Regions from separate parts of the Homo sapiens genome. Here regions 1, 2 and 4 are each linked to region 3. The links are contacts of gene promoters, found by promoter capture Hi-C in blood cells and fetal thymus (Javierre and others, 2016). All regions are on one chromosome and are shown on one strand. The core of a region is centred on a gene start or on the middle of the fragment in contact, and the rest is flanking DNA. Distances in the headings are between cores, read along the strand shown.

The links. The method cuts DNA at HindIII sites, captures the fragments that hold promoters and counts their contacts. A CHiCAGO score of 5 or more calls a contact.
Region 1: the fragment with the promoter of RSPH3 here is called in contact with the fragment with the promoter of WTAP in region 3 in 1 of 17 cell types (neutrophils); the score reaches 5.5 in neutrophils.
Region 2: a fragment that was not itself captured here is called in contact with the fragment with the promoter of WTAP in region 3 in 1 of 17 cell types (total B cells); the score reaches 5.1 in total B cells.
Region 4: a fragment that was not itself captured here is called in contact with the fragment with the promoter of WTAP in region 3 in 1 of 17 cell types (total CD8 T cells); the score reaches 5.8 in total CD8 T cells.

Annotation. Positions count from the first base shown.
Region 1 is chr6:158,997,974-159,001,961 of GRCh38, forward strand. It overlaps RSPH3 (radial spoke head 3), which reads right to left and starts at 2,229. Exons shown (of 8, transcript NM_031924.8): 1 at 1,462-2,229. The coding sequence starts at 1,577. TAGAP-AS1 (TAGAP antisense RNA 1) reads left to right here and starts at 1,900. Exons shown (of 5, transcript NR_183546.1): 1 at 1,900-2,419. RefSeq lists enhancers at 972-1,943, 1,428-1,577, 1,598-1,647, 1,678-1,747, 1,918-2,077 and 2 more. The HindIII fragment of the contact is 7,152 bases long and covers 1-3,502 here.
Region 2 is chr6:159,169,509-159,173,149 of GRCh38, forward strand. FNDC1 (fibronectin type III domain containing 1) reads left to right here. Exons shown (of 23, transcript NM_032532.3): 1 at 1-197. The coding sequence starts at 89. FNDC1-AS1 (FNDC1 antisense RNA 1) reads right to left here and starts at 499. Exons shown (of 4, transcript NR_121668.1): 1 at 304-499. RefSeq lists an enhancer at 747-1,246. The HindIII fragment of the contact is 1,395 bases long and covers 951-2,345 here.
Region 3 is chr6:159,725,834-159,729,451 of GRCh38, forward strand. It overlaps WTAP (WT1 associated protein), which reads left to right and starts at 1,673. Exons shown (of 8, transcript NM_001270531.2): 1 at 1,673-1,870. It also overlaps a transcript of SOD2 not described here. RefSeq lists enhancers at 884-1,481, 962-1,051, 1,402-1,531, 1,482-2,079 and a silencer at 1,542-2,091. The HindIII fragment of the contact is 6,285 bases long and covers 1-3,539 here.
Region 4 is chr6:160,520,757-160,524,893 of GRCh38, forward strand. It overlaps LOC124901454 (a long non-coding RNA gene), which reads left to right. Exons shown (of 2, transcript XR_007059844.1): 1 at 1-76. Among named protein-coding and RNA genes, the nearest start is that of LPA, 140 kb to the right of the region's middle. The HindIII fragment of the contact is 2,551 bases long and covers 601-3,151 here.

The DNA of each region.
Region 1 (3,988 bases), core at 979-3,478, 730 kb before region 3:
CATCAGTTTGACAATTCGTATTAAGTGCTTACTATGTACCAGGCATTGTACTAGGTGAACAAAAGATGCAAAAGTTCCTGCATCCATGGAGCTTGCATTCCTATAAAGTTCTGCTGAATTCAACATTTGAGGCTTATGGAAAGAACTTTAGAGAACCGTTTAACTTTAAGAGAACTTTAAGAGTTTATGTTTTTTTTGCTGGGTGTGGTGGCTCAGGCCTGTAATCCCAGCATTTTGGGAGGCCGAGGCGGGCGGATCATGAGGTCAGGAGATCGAGAGTATCCTGGCTAACATGGTGAAACCCCGTCTCTACTAAAAAAATACAAAAAAAAAAAAAAAAAAAAAAAGAGCCGGGCGTGGTGGCGGGCGCCTGTAGTCCCAGCTACTTGGGAGGCTGAGGCAGGAGAATGGCGTGAACCCGGGAGGTGGAGGTTGCAGTGAGCCGAGATTGTGCCACTGCACTCCAGCCTGGGCGACAGAGCGAGACTCCGTCTCAAAAAAAAAAAAAGAAAAAAAAAAAGGCTTATGTTTTGTTTTTTTTCTTTCCTATGTATGTTTGAATATTTGCAACTGTTCATGGATGTAAAAACACAAACTGCCGTCCGGGCGCGGTGGCTCACGCTTGTAATCCCAGCACTTTGGGAGGCCGAGGCGGGCGGATCACTTGAGGCCAAGAGTTTGAGACCAGCCTGGCCAACGTGGCAAAACCCTGTCTCTACTAAAAATACAAAGATTAGCCGGGGGTGGTGGAGGGCGCCTCTAGTCCCAGCTACTTGGGAGGCTGAGGCAGGAGAATCGTTTGATCGGGGAGGAGTGGGGGAGGGGGGCGGAGGTTGCAGTGAGCGGAGATCGCGTCATTGCAGTCCAGCCTGGGCGACAAGAGCGAAACTCCGTCTCAAAACAACAACAGCAACCACCACCACCACCACCACCACCACCACAAAAAACCAATCTGTGGTCCTGCATGGAAGAATAATCTTACTCCTGCTCAAAGCCTGCCGAAGAGATTTACTCGGCTCCCATTTTGGATATGCTACTGTTGGATATCTTTGCACCGCGGTCTCCTCATCTGCATAATGGAGTTATAAAATCAACTTCACAGCACTGTGGATTAACTAAGAAAACGTATTTGAATGCCCCCCGTAAGGTGCTCAGCACGTAGTTGGCCCTCAATACACACTGGTACAATTCAAACTTTGTGAAATGAGCCAATTCGTGTACATGTTAAGGACCACGGCAGCAACTCATATCACTAAAAGTTAACTGATGCCCAACCCATGCCCCTTCCTGCTTCACTCCTCCACACCACGGGAGATTCCTTAGGGCAGAACTTTTATTTCGGCAGAGTGCAGCCAAGGGAAGACAGCATAAGCAGCTTTTTTGCCAGGGCGAAGGGGCCAGACCCCGGCCTGGGGATGGGGTGCAAGTATGGACCACACAGGGGCTGGCTTGGTCACTCACGGCTGCGTCAGGCTGTCCCGGTAACGGCTGCGCTGGCAGGGCAGTGCTCGGGGCCGGCTGGTGTAGGTGTAGGTGCTCGGGGCCCGAGAGGTGCGATCAGTCAGCGCTGAGGCCATGTCCGGGGGCTGACTGCCTCGCTTTCGGTGGAGCTTGGCTTTGAAGCAGGTGGGCGCTAAGGTGTTGTGGGACCCGGAGAGATGTAAGTAGTGCCAAGGGCAAGGATTCCGCGACGCGAGGAGAGGCGACAACAAGGGAGGCGGGCGGGACGGGAGGTTACCAGCGCAGGAGGTGGGAGCTATACTGGGCTCGCTCCCAGCACCACAGAGACCAGCTGCGGGGGCCGCATCGGTTGCCCAGCAACCCAGGGTTCTGTCTGGGGGCGGGAACTCCGGGCAGTTCCGGTCCCCAGGTTTCCCGGGAAGGACTGCGGCACAAGGGACTTCCGGCTCTTGACTCCGCCCAGCCGCGCCACCCAGGTAGGTGCGCCTGCGCTTTGCGAGGTTCCTGGCTAGGGAGGCGGCCTTGGCTGGCTTGACCGTCATCCTTGAGGCCTGCGGGGCAACGGTGGCTGTCCTTGGCCCGGCTTTGGAATGTGGCTTTGCAGGGCTGGTGTTGGCGCCATTCTCGCAGGCCCACGTGCTCCTGCTCTTCCAGGGTGTCCTCGGCTGTTTCTCCTGCCGCGGCGCAGCAGCGCTCCCAGGCTGCCCCCGCGATAACACGCCCCTGGCAGCCAGGCTCCCAGCTCTGTTACGTGCCCGGGCGGGGAAGAGCTTCCTGGTGTCTCCCGGCTCCTGCCCTTCTCCCGCCCCAGGGGCGGGCTGCCGCCGCCCTCTGCAGCTGAGTCAGTGCAGTTCCTCACCTACCTTCTCTGCTCACCGCTGTGTGCTAGCAATCGGAGGACCCTTGGCACACGGAGCGACAGGGGCCTCCCCCACAGACACCTCATTTTGGGAAAGAAGTGAGCAATTTATTGAGTCTTAAAAAATACAAAGGCATAGTTCCCCTTAATCTATCAGGCTTCCAGCTCTAAAGAATGTCTCTAGTATTGCGGGGTGGGGCTGCGCTTAAAAACGCAGACGCTTTGGTTTTAGTACCAGCAACGTTAAAAATCTTCTATCTTGTATGAGTGAATGTGTATCCCTTGTGATCAGTTATTTGCATTTGCAGTTACACCTTCATTCAGCTAATTGCTGTCTTGATTTGAATCCAGGTTCTAGAATGTACTAGCTCCGAAACCTCAGGCAAGTTAAATGTTTTTGTGCTTCATTTTCCTAATCCACAAAGTGGCAATAGAAGAATTTATCTCTTTAGGTTTTGTCTTGAGGATTAAAACCGTTAATACTTAGAGCTGTGCCTGGTAAATGGCAAGCCTTTATATTAAGATCTGGACCGTTCTGTGCTTTGAAGTGTATGACCTAAAGCAGATGTAGGCATTCTATAAGTAACACTAGCATAAAGGTGTATGGTAAATTCTAGAGGTGAAAACACTCCCAACATATTTTAGGTCTGATCATTTAATTTTGAGGTAATTTCTGAAAGGGCTAGAGGAGAAAGTGACATTTAAGTTGTGTTTGATAAATGATAGTATTTTAACTGGCCAGCCTCTTGGGGGAAGTGCATTCGGAATGGCTTGATCAAAGGCTCAAGAAGCCCAAGGTGCATTTGGAAAACTGTAAGCAAGGTTTGTGTAGATGAGTTGTAGAAATATATATAGACAGGCTGACACCACATCGTGGAAACAGTAAACACTAGCATATTAATTAGAATATTTTTTCCCTCAAGTAACAAAAAACCAATTCCAAGTGGCTGAAATAATAAGGAATTCATTATTTTACACTCCCCAGGTTGGTTAACCTGGAGGGTAACTTGGGGGCTCAGCACATTATCAACAACACGTTTTTTCCCCTACCTTTCCACTCTGTCACCTGGGTTGTTGGCTTCAACAAAGTAGTAATAGAAGTATCTGCTCTTTTGTCTTTATTGGAAGAGCAAAACCCCCTCGTAAACTCCCAACTGACCAGAATTACATCATATTGATTTAAGCTTAGGATCTATATAAGACCACCATATTTGGATTAGACCAGGTAACCGGTCTTTCTAGGCCTCCAAGAAACACTTGGCCAGGGAGGAGGAGAACAAATTCTGTTAGGAGGATGTTGGGGCAGAATTGAGTGGGTATTAAGTGGGTAAACAATAGTGCTATACCAGCCACAGTGGGCTTTATAAAGAAATTGATAGCCACTATAGGTTCTTGTACAAGTTTCTTTCTTTTTTTTTTTTTTTAGATGGAGTCTCGCTCTGTGGCCAGGCTGGAGTGCAGTGGCGCGATCTTGGCTCACTGCAACCTCCGCCTCCCCGGTTCAAGTGGTTCTCCTGCCTCAGCCTCCTGAGTAGCTGGGACTACAGGCGTGTGCCACCCCGTCCAGCTAATTTCTGTATTTTTAGTAGAGGCGGGGTTTCACCATGTTGGCCAGGATGGTCTTGTTCTCTTGACCTGGTGATCCGCCCTCCTCAGCCTCCCAAAGTG
Region 2 (3,641 bases), core at 398-2,897, 560 kb before region 3:
GACGGCGGCGCCTCGGCACTCCCCAGACTCCGGCCAGCGCCCCCCTGCCAGCCGCAAGCACCCAGCCCCGGCCCACCCCGGGCTCTCGATGGCCCCCGAGGCCGGGGCGACCCTGCGCGCGCCGCGCCGGCTGTCCTGGGCGGCGCTGCTGCTCTTGGCCGCGCTGCTCCCCGTCGCCTCCTCGGCGGCGGCCTCAGGTACGCGCCGCGCCCGGGCCCCCGGCGCTCCTCAGCTCCCCGCGCACCCTCCTGCGCTCGGGCCCCGTCGTCCCGCTCAGTGCTGGCTACGGGTCGTGTCACTAGCCTGTGCGTCCTCGTCACTCGCGGGTCGGGGCACTTGGCGCCCTGTGTGGGTGGCGGGAGCGGGGACGCCTCGGTGCCCGGGGACCGCAGCGCGCTGGCGTTTAACTTTGCCGTCGCCCGCCTTGGAGTCGGGAGGCTCCAGCCGTCTAAGTGTCCCGGGAGATTCAGGCACAGCGGGGAAAAAAGGAAAAGAAAGGCGACTTTCAGCGTGCGGACTGGGGTAATGCCTTTCTTTGCCCAGAATTTCTCGGGAGCGTAGGTGGTCATCCTACTTTCTCCGCGTTCACCTCTCGCGAGGCAGGATGACGGGCGCACTCGGGAGACCGGAGGGAGGCAGAGCAGGGCTGTTCTAGAAGGTCGTGGGGGAAAGGCTGCGAGCTGCCGCAGGGCGTCGGGTGCCTCTGCGCTCCAGAGGAGAAGCGCTCCAGTGCCAGCTCGGCTCCAGGCGGCAGGAGGCCCGCGCGCCCGGGGGGAACGTTCAAGCTGGGAGAAAATGTTTGTCTTGAGAGGAGGGAGAGGGAAATGAGAAAGCTGATTCCAGAGAAACTCGCCCTTCCCCAATGGCTGAGGCTGCAGCCAGGATGGATGCTTCCTTTGAGAGCAATGCTTTTCAGAAAATGCTAGCGCGCTCCTGTCAGATTTCTTGCAAGCTTCCTGCAGAGAGAGACAAGTTTGTGGCGAGGTTTTCATTCCTAAGCCTTTGGCGGCCCTTGTTACCACCTCCTTTGCAGGCATTTTTACACTTGAAACTGGCTTTTAGGTTATTGGTTTGTAGAAATCCAAGAAGCAGACAATGATCGTCAGATACTATTCCAACGAGGGTACCAGTTTTATGATGCTATTTAGTGTATATATTGTTCTCTTACTTCAGGGGTAAAGGAAGAAAAGTTGGGGATCACATTACTTTGTGACTTTTTGGTAGATACATCATCCCAATGCTTGGCTCAGGTTTATGCGAGGTATTCTGATGCCAATGCCACTTTCTCATAAAAGGCAGTGCCTGCCGTAGGGTCTTTTTCTTCCCATTAGTGAACTCTAGGAAAGTATTCACTGAATACTTTGCACAGTACTTGAGAGGAATAAAACTAAATAAAGTCTTCCAACTTCCCCACCTACAACTCCTGGCTTTTGTTTTTCTAAGTGAAAATTTTCAGAGTGCTGGAAGAGTTTTTGTTTCTGAAAATGATCTGAAACTGGAACCAGTGCTGCCCTGGCTTTGTGGCGATTCCAGCCTTCTGCTTTTCCGATTCCTCTGCCACCTGCCCGTGGGTTGCATGTGAGTGGGTCCGAGCGGGGTTGTTTGTGAGAGCTCCTGGAATCCCACCGCGATCTGCACTCTTGCTTTTTCGCCTTCTGCTCTGTGAATCACTGTGCTGAGGAATGCTGGGGCTGGACAGCTTCCCAGCCCTTCTCTCTACTGTGTTGACGTGGGATCTACAGTCAAATGATGACCAGACTAGAGGTGGACAAAGGAGGACAGGCACATTTCAGAATGAAATCTACTAAATTTAAATTAAGTAATAGAAGGATAGAAACAGACATAGCAACCTGTAGATAGCTCCCCATGCTGTGGATGAAATTATGGGGTACATAACTTCTTTCATGGGCTCCCTTTGACAGCAACGTCATGGATAGACTGCTCCCTCTCTCTGGTTGAACTAATGCATGGACCAAGCGAGCTGCTTGTGTCAAGCTCTCCCCTTCACCACCCTTTTGGGGCCAGAATCTCTGTAAGGAAATTACCCACGGCCACATAATAGTGGCTCCGAGGGACTTTGCTTAAAGCAGGACACACTGAAGATCTGGATAAGCCCTTCAGTGTAGGGTCAATTAAACATAAAACAAAATAAGCAAGCAGTGTCCCCTCCTCCACTCATATTCATCCCTACAATAGGATACTATGCAAACATTAAAATTATGATGGCCTTGCCAGTCTGGTATGATACATTTTTCTAAACACATGTGGATGTACTCACACATGCACATATTTGCAGTGGGTATCTTAGGATGGTTAGGGATGATTTTTATTTTCTTCTTTAAAGAAGCTTTTAGGGAATTTTCCATGTCAAAACTATTTTCAAAGTAATACTAAGATTACTAAGATGCTATTTTCCTTTTTCACAGTTGACATTTGCACTGAGGGTGCAAAAGCTTGATGGGTAAACTGCGGGTGTCTTACTGAGAATCAAGGCAGGGACATCACCATGCACTAGTAGTCTTTGAATTTTGGGGGGACTTTGCAGTTAAAAAAAATTTGCCAGTTTCATTAAGAATGTTCTTGATGCCACAGTAAAATTATTAATTTTACCAAATCTTTGTATCTTTGAGTGTATGTCTTTTTAATAGTGTAAATAAATGGGAAGGACACATAAGTTACTACTGCTGATGACCAAGTTCAGTGGCAACCCCAGGGGGAAGCACTGGTGTGATTGTTTGTGTTATGCATTAAGCTAGCTGGTTTTTTAAAATGGAATGTGGTATTTACCACAAAGAATGACAACAGACAAACTAGAGCTATTCTGACTTGGGTATTTGGCCGATGTTTTCTCAAAAATGAACAAAGGGAACTTGCTACTTCTAGTAAAATAACTGCTATTATTGCTTGCCAATGATAACATTTCAGCTTTCAAGTGAAAATCAGAATTTTGCCAAGTTGTTTCCACCACTGTAAGCTTGAAAGTTTCCCAATATTTAAATTTTTTTCTAGTGAGATCAATGGTGATATAAATGAATGTGATTTGTAAATGTCATCTCATAAAATGTGTCAACATTTGGATGATCTGCATAACCAAATAAACCAATAGATCCAAATGACCAGTGTATAGCCTTACAACAATCTTGCATGGGTAAAAGGTCTGTTCAAAGTGCATGATAGCCCAATGGATTTTTAATGTAACAAAATATGAAAAATTCTTCATATGATTTCAGATTCTAAGAATTGGCTACTTGATGAATTTTGGTGTAATATCAAAGATTTTTCAAAATTATCCAAAAAGGCTATTGAAATAGTTGTCCAGCTACACATCTGTGTGAGGCTGGGTTTTCTCCAAGCAAAACGACATATTGCAATAGATTGAATGCATAAGCAGATCGGAGATATTCTATTAAAAAGATTTGCCAAAATGTAGAAACAAAGCTGCTCTTCTCACTCATTTCTCTTTGTTTTGGGAAACAGTTACTTTTCATATAAATATATTTGTATGTCAACATGTAATGGTTTATTATTGTTTTTTAAAATAAATAAGTACATATTTTCGTTTTAATTCCCAGTAAAGTCAATAAGGATAGATAAAACTCACAGAAACATAACCTCCTTGGCATCCTCGTAAATTTAAGAAT
Region 3 (3,618 bases), core at 423-2,922:
GTGAATACTTACTACACTTAAATATTTAAGTGAATACTTAATACAACCTGAGACTCATTCCAAAGCAACACACGATTATTTCCTGAATCTTTTTAATGGTTGCATTGTGTTCTACTGTATGGATGCACCATTCCCAATCAGTTCCCTATTAACGGATATTTGGGTTATCCCTAACTTTTGCTATGACAAATAGCACTGCAATAACCTTGTATACCTATTGTTTCCATGTGTGGAGCTGCACCTTCAGAATAAGGTTAGGGTTAGAAGTATAACTGCAAGGTATAAGAATAAACACAAGTAATTTTGTACTCCGTGGAACTTGAACCATTTTTCCACTCCCACCAGGAAAGGTAATTTCAACGTGTATTTCCATTGTAAGTGAGGTGGAGCGACTTTCTATGTTTAAAGACCATTACGGTATTTTTTCTGAGAATCATCTGTTCATGTCCTTCCCCATTTTCTCCTTTGGCTTTTGCACTTTTTGTTTTCAATTTTTGAGAGCTCTTGTGATACGAGTTGCAAAGATTTTCTCCAGACCGATCTGATTCACTGGAAATATACTACGACCATCTGGAATGTACTTTAATCTTATCCTAATAAATCACCTTACTACAAGACACTCCTTTGGGGATGAACAGGTTTGATAAAGCCGGCTAAGGACAGACCAATCAAAAGAATTACGTGCTCTTCTAGTAAGTGTTTAGAGACTGTTTCACGTTCTCCAGGTAACACCGCCATTACTCGGCGGTCCAGATGGCAGTCTTACTTCAGGGAGTCTACTCCACTTGCAGGACCTCTTTGATTGAGTTCACTAAACCTCACAGGGCCGCCTTCCCCGTGTTCCAGTTAGCAAGGGGCCCTCAACGCCGCGGACACAGCGCAACCTCCGACGCCAGAGAACAATAGCTCCTCGATGCGTCTCCAGAGATGTCAAGGAGGAACGAACCCAGCGGCCAGGAGACTGCGCCTCACGACTGATGAGAGGGAAGGCATCGGTTTCTAAGTTCTCAAAACTTACAGGTGAGCTTCTGCTAAGAGTAAACGCCCGCGGCTCGCCGCCCACGGCCTCTCTCTTGAGGTGGCACCTGGTCCTCCGACACGCGGAAGCATCACGGATGAGCGTCACGAACACAGAGCGGCCAATCACGCGCCGCCTTCGCCCAGATCCCTCCGCACGAGGCAGCCCCGCAGCCGCAGGTGGCCCCGGCGAGTACTTCCACCTTCCCTTCCCGTGATGCCCTGGGGCTGACCTCCGACCTCGCTGGCCCGCCCCTCCCCTCGGCCGCTTCCCTTACTGAGCTTGCTGAGCTCCGGGGCCCGCGGAGCTCGCGCCAGGCTCCTGGGAAAGGACGGGGAGTGTTACCGGGGAGCAGCTGCTCCATTGTGCCTCGAGGCCCCGATCGGGCTAGGCCGACGGCCTCCCTCCCTTCACCTTTCCTCTCCTGGCGGGGTTCGGCGGCGGGCGAGTGACTGCGGCCACGCCTGAAAGGCGACTCTCCTGTGAGTGGGCCAGAAGGCGAACATGGCGGAGCGGGGAGGCTGGCGGGAGGCGGGAGGCGGGAGGCGGGAGGCAGTGGCGCTGGCCTGCGGCGCGTTCGGACCGGCTGTGGGGCGGGGCAGGGCGGAGCGGAGCCGTGCGGCGGGGCGGGGCCGGGCGGCGGGGCCTGGTTTCCTCCCTCAGCGCCATTTTGTGGCAGCGAGACCCACAAATAAAGGGGAGCGCAGGGGTTGCGGCGGGACTAGGAGCGCGGCGGGGCCGGCGGCAGAGCTGTCCGGCTGCGCGGTGGCCCGGGGGGCCCGGGCGGCAGGGCAAGCAGCGCGGCCTCGGCCTATGCGACCGGTGGCGCCGGCGCGGCTTCTGCCTGGAGAGGTAGGCGCGGGCCGGCTGGCGGGAGCGGACGCGGGGGACCTCCGGGGCCTGAGGGCTGATGCGCAGCCGCCCCCGGCGGGTAAGGGGCGGGCAGGGCCCGAAAGGCCACACGGGCCTGGTGCGGCACCGGTCTCTCGTGAGCCGCTCTACCTTCCCGCCTGCGGGGAACACTTCCGCCGCTTCGAGGCCATTTTATCTCTGTCCTCCGTCCCCAAGGCCCGGGTTGAGAGGGGTGCTCTGGCGGCCGGAGAGACCGGCCACTCACGGAGGCCGGAGGATGCCCTCCCCGGGCTGAGCGGCGGCGCTCGTTTTTTCCTCGCCTCGGGGTCGCCCCCTTCACCTCCCTTGGGCCTCTCCTGAGGACCTGGCGGCACTAACGAGTTCAGCAAGGAAAAAAAGAAACATTCGTTCCCTACATTTCATGTCACGCAGTAGGATGTTACTACGTTCTCTTGTAGACTTCCATTTTTAAATGAGTATAAGCATTCTGAGGAAAGAAACTGAATTATTGCAGATTTTTGTGAAATCCAAGTCTTACCTTGGATCCCTGTGAGACAGTTACTAGATTTTTTTTTCACCGTTTTTCATAAGTCTGTGTACACGTAATGGAAAAGCCCGAGTTCTTGTTTTGATAAGAAAGTCACTTGGTTGTTTGATCCCAAAGGATTAGCTTAACATTATCAAGGACTAGCATAACTGTGATTATGTAAAAAAAACAAAACAAAACAAAAAAACTATTATTTAGTCTGGTAGGGAAATACTTCTATGAGTATGTTACAATTGGAAGTTGTATTTGTGCCTATTTTATCTAGTTTTAGTTAATTCCATTGCTTCGGAAGATAAGTGGACGTCATAGATCCATCGCAAGTTCTCGTTTTTTGGATTTTAAAATTTTGACCATTAAGTTTTCTACGATAGATAAACATGTTGTGGACATTTAAAACCGTAATTTAAAACTATGAGCGAAAAATCTTTTCAAGATGGATACATTTTAATTCATTCAAGTAGCATCTGATTAGCCAAGTCGGGGAAAGATTGCAGTCCGCAAAGCTGGCTTGTGATAAGGTTGAGGTTACATTTTAAGGGTTTGGGTAGGTGTGTTTCTTACAGTGCTTTTATATGTTAAGGTATCTTAAGCAGACACATGGTTTAAAAGTTCAGTATTTTTAGTACTTTTTCATTGGCAGAATTTGGACAAGCTACCAGAATTGCTAACTCCTAAAGGATAAAAGTAATAATAATAGTGTGTCCCAGGCACTGCTTATTTTTACATGGCTCTTTTATGTCTAGCTTTTCCAATTCAACGTTGAGTCATGTTTGCTGAAAATATTTTTGTGTATTGTTTGTCAGAAATAAGCTGGTAGAGATGAAACACAATGTGTAAAAAGCCCTGTGATGTGGAGATGAGCATTGTCACAATTTGTACAGTACATTAAAGCGTTCAAGGTCTCTTATGGTCTTGTATGTAGTATTGAATCCCCTTGAATATATTGTTTAGCAGTTTTGATCATTATGTATTTGCTTCTTGCTCCTCAAAATTGTACGTTAGTTAGTAGGTCCTTCAGCAAAAGAAGACTGAAGATAGTATTTTGGTTTTATTCTTGTTTTTAATTTTTTTAGTTGTCTCCAACTTTTCTGCCTCTAAATATTTTGCTTCTTGTAGTTACTAAGCTTAACACAGAAAAACTTTTCAGTATCTCCACAATAGTAAACTTCATTGTGTATTGTGTATAACAAGATGTTCCATC
Region 4 (4,137 bases), core at 626-3,125, 800 kb after region 3:
AGTGGACGCCAAGGCCGAGGAGGCGCCCAGAGTGAGCGAGGGCTGCTAGCACTTTGTCACCTCTCAATTTGACGTTGTAAGCTTCCTTCCACAGAGTGACCTTTTTCATGCAATCGATGTGCTCCTGTGTCAGCTATGCAAAATAATTTTTGTTTACTGAATCTGGTTTAAAAGGCAAGAAGTTGCTTCCCATTGGGCACTTTGATCCTGGTGAAACGGGATGTGTATGCCTGGAAACATGGACAGTCACATGCACTGCTTGGTTTTGTGTGGAACTAACATGAGATGATCTTTTCACTGATTTTCAGAATTGTGGAGAATTCACTTAGGAAAATAAGCATGTGTATCAATGCATGACCAATATGGGCGTTTACTTTAACTGATTTCACAGAAGCAGTGCTCCTAATATTTTGAGCCACACAGATTTTATCTGGTGCCTCTTTATGATATGATCAATTAGCTGCTTACTTCATAAGTTATGTGGAGTGGGGAAGATACTCCTATTTTCTCTTTAAATGTCTTTTCTCTGATTTAAAGAAGTAATAAAGGAGAAATCTTTTTGCTATATTTTACTTTTATCCTCCACTATTCTGAAGTTTAAGCTTCAATAATTAATATAAGTACAGTAAAATTAATATTTTAAAGGTAGCTGATATGCTTGATAACCAGAAAATATTTCATTTTTTAAAAATTCTATTTCATCTACTAATTTGATCCATATGATCCATATGCAAGGGTATGTAAAAGTCTATATATAGTCATATGACAAAGGTATATGGTGTATTGAATTTATACTTTTATTGTTCATCACTAAGACCCTTTTTTACTTTAAAAGTGGGTTATATAGACCTGTGAAACATGCAACAAAAATGAAAACACTGCACCTTTTTGTGGTTCTGTAAACACACAAGAAAAGTGGAGGTCAGGATCCATGCTGTTGGCCAGGTATTAAGTTGGCGTTATCAGCAATCACTGTAGTCTCTGTGAGTGCTGATGAATCTGAATGTCATGCCTTGGGAATTGCTTTTTTGACTAGATTACTGGTTTGAGGTTGTTGCCGTTGTGTTTTTTGTAAGAGTAGAAATTCACAAGTGCACAACGTTGGATTTAGGTAAGTGGAAATTTAATGCAATCACAGCAGTGCCTCATACAAAGAAAGTGATCAACAAATGTAGCCATGATAAGGGTCACTCGCTAGGCCAGTTGTCACCTACCCCTCTGCTGGATGACAGCCCTTCTGCATCTGCACTCAGCTCCCGCGTTTCCGGAGCTTCTCTTCTCAGACCATGCAGTGCCCAGAGCTTCAGATCTGTCCATATCCTTCATCAACACCTCCTGAAAGTATGAGACCTTGCAGAGGCCCATGTCTTCCAGGTGTTGCCAAGACAGCTGAGACAGAGCCCTGGAGTCCTTTCTTATCATCCCTTGATCAGGGTGTCTTATATCTGTTAATTCTACAAATAGCCATTTTTTTAAATGTCATTTATTTTAAACCAGTAGCTCAGCTGTCCTGTGCCAGCTCCACACCCTCAACTCTACAGCTGATTACACAGTTCATTATTATGCTAATTTAAGAAATGTTAAATATATGCAAACCTACAGAGGGAACAAACACTGTAGCAACTTACCAACTTTCCCACAACCTGCAGTTAACAATTGTGAACAGTTTGTCATTTTAACTTTTCCCCAGTCCCTGGAATTTCCTCATCTCTAACCCAGTCTCCCTCAACCACTCATGATGAAGTGTGTACCCATCCAATCTGTTTTGGAACATTTTAAAATTATTTTACTTGGTTTTTTTTAAATCAGCTTTATATATGCACATAGTTTAAAGAGTCAAAAAGTTCTGTCCAGGCATGGTGGCTCACACCTGTAATCATAGCAATTTGGAAGGCCGAGGCAGGAGGATCATGAGTCCAGGAGCTTGAGACCAGATTGGCCAACATGGTGAAACTTCATCTCTAATAAAAATAAAAAAAAATTAGCTGGATATAGCAGCCCATATCTGTAATCCTAGCTACTTGGGAGGCTGAGGCACGGGAATTGCTTGAACCCAAGAGGCAGAGGTTGCGGTGAGCCAAGACTGCACCACTGCACTCCAGCCTGGGTGACAGAAGGAGACTCTGTCTCAAAAAAAAAAAAAAAAAGAAAAAAAGTAAAAAGTTCTGTTTTTACAGAATTACTGCGTTTCCTTCTCTCCAGAGGCAAACACTTCCAATTCTTTATTTCATTTATTTTTGAGATGGAGTTTTGCTCTGTCACCCAGGCTGGAGTGCAGTGGCACGATCTCGGTTCACTGCAACCTTCACCTCCCTGGTTCAAGCGATTCTCCTGCCTCAGCCTCTTGAGTAGCTGGGACTACGGCGTCCACCACCAGGCCTGGCTAATTTTTGTATTTTTAGTAGAGACTGGGTTTCACCATGTTGGCCAGGCTGGTCTCAAACTCCTGACCTCAGGGCGATCCACCCACCTCCGCCTCCCAAAGTGCTGGGATTACAGGCCTGAGCCACCGCACCCGGCCACCTCCAATTCTTTCAACTGATCCTATTGGCATTTACCTTCAGCTCTCTAAATAACTTTCTGACTGTGGTACTTCTTTTTTCAGTTTTAGTCATTACCTATTGATATGGTTTCGATCTGTGTTCATGCCCAAATTTCAAGTCAAATTGTAATCCTTAGTGTGGAGGCGGGGTCTGATGGGAGGTGATTGGCTCATAGGGCAGTAACTCATGAATGGTTTAGCACCTTCTCCAGGTGCTGTTCTCCTGATAGTGAGTTCTCAGGAGATCTGGTTGTTTAAGTGTGTGTGGTACCTCCCCCACCCTTGCTCCTGCTCCTGCCATATGAGAAGTGTTTTCCATTTTTAAAATTATAGACATTTAAATTATAGACATTTTAATGGATATGAAGTCTTATTTCATTGTGATTTTATTGGCATACACAGCATACACATACCGTCCACATACCACACACATACACTTCACACACCGTACATACTACATACACCCACACATCCTTTTGCCATATGTACCTAAAATAATTATGTAATTATATTGTAATTTTGGTTAAGTAAATATTCAGTGTTTATGTAACTGAGGCCTGTAGTATCCTTTTATATTTCTCCCTAGAATTCATTATTTTCTTTTCTGTAAGCTTTTATGTCTGTTTCCTAATTCCACTCCAAATTCTCAGTTATATACCTTTTCAATATGCCCCCAAACCAATCAGGCCATCTAGCGTTTTTCTTCCAGAGAGCTCCTCGGGAACCACCGGCTCTGCTCTGGTGTGGCCTGGGTGCACAGCCGGCCTGCTGTGCAGTTGTGGGATCTCCATGGACTGTCATCCAGAAGACCCCCTTTCCTCTCTGATATTTGATCCCGTTTCATGGATCCCACATCTTCCTTTTTAAAAAAAGTTACTTCCTCATTTTGCCAAAGCAAATATTCTAGTATCATCCTTAGAAAGGATACATGGAAGGTATTTTTTAATTGAAGTGAAATTCTCATAAGAAAAGTAGCAGTCTTATAGTGAACAATGCGTTGTATTTAGTATGTTCACATTGGCAACCACCACCTCCATCCAGTTCCAAAACATTTTCATGACCCCAAAGCACAATGCAGTACCCAATAAGCTGGTACTTTCCATGACCCCATCCCAGCCCTTGCTTTCAAGTTTCAGCCATGTAGCGGATACCAGTACTTCATTCCTTTTTGTAGCTGTATAAACCACAATTTGTTTATCCCCTCATCTATTGATTGACATTTGGGTGTGGCTGTTGTAACAGTGCTGCTATGAACATTCTCATGCAAGGTATCTGTTTGGGCACTTGTTTTCAATTCTTGTATATATACACCTAAGAGTAAAATTGTTAGATCACATGGTAATTCTATGTTTAGCATTTTAAGGAACTGTCAAATTGTTTTCCACAGTGGCCAAACCATTTTCCCTGTACATTCCCACCAGCAATATACAGGATTCTAATTTCTCCACATCCTCACAAATGCTTGTTATTTTCCATTTTTTAAATTATAGACATTTTAATGGATATGAAGTCTTATTTCATTGTGATTTTATTGGCATTTTCTTAATGACTAATGATGTTGACCATCATTTCATGTACTTATTGCCTATTTGTAT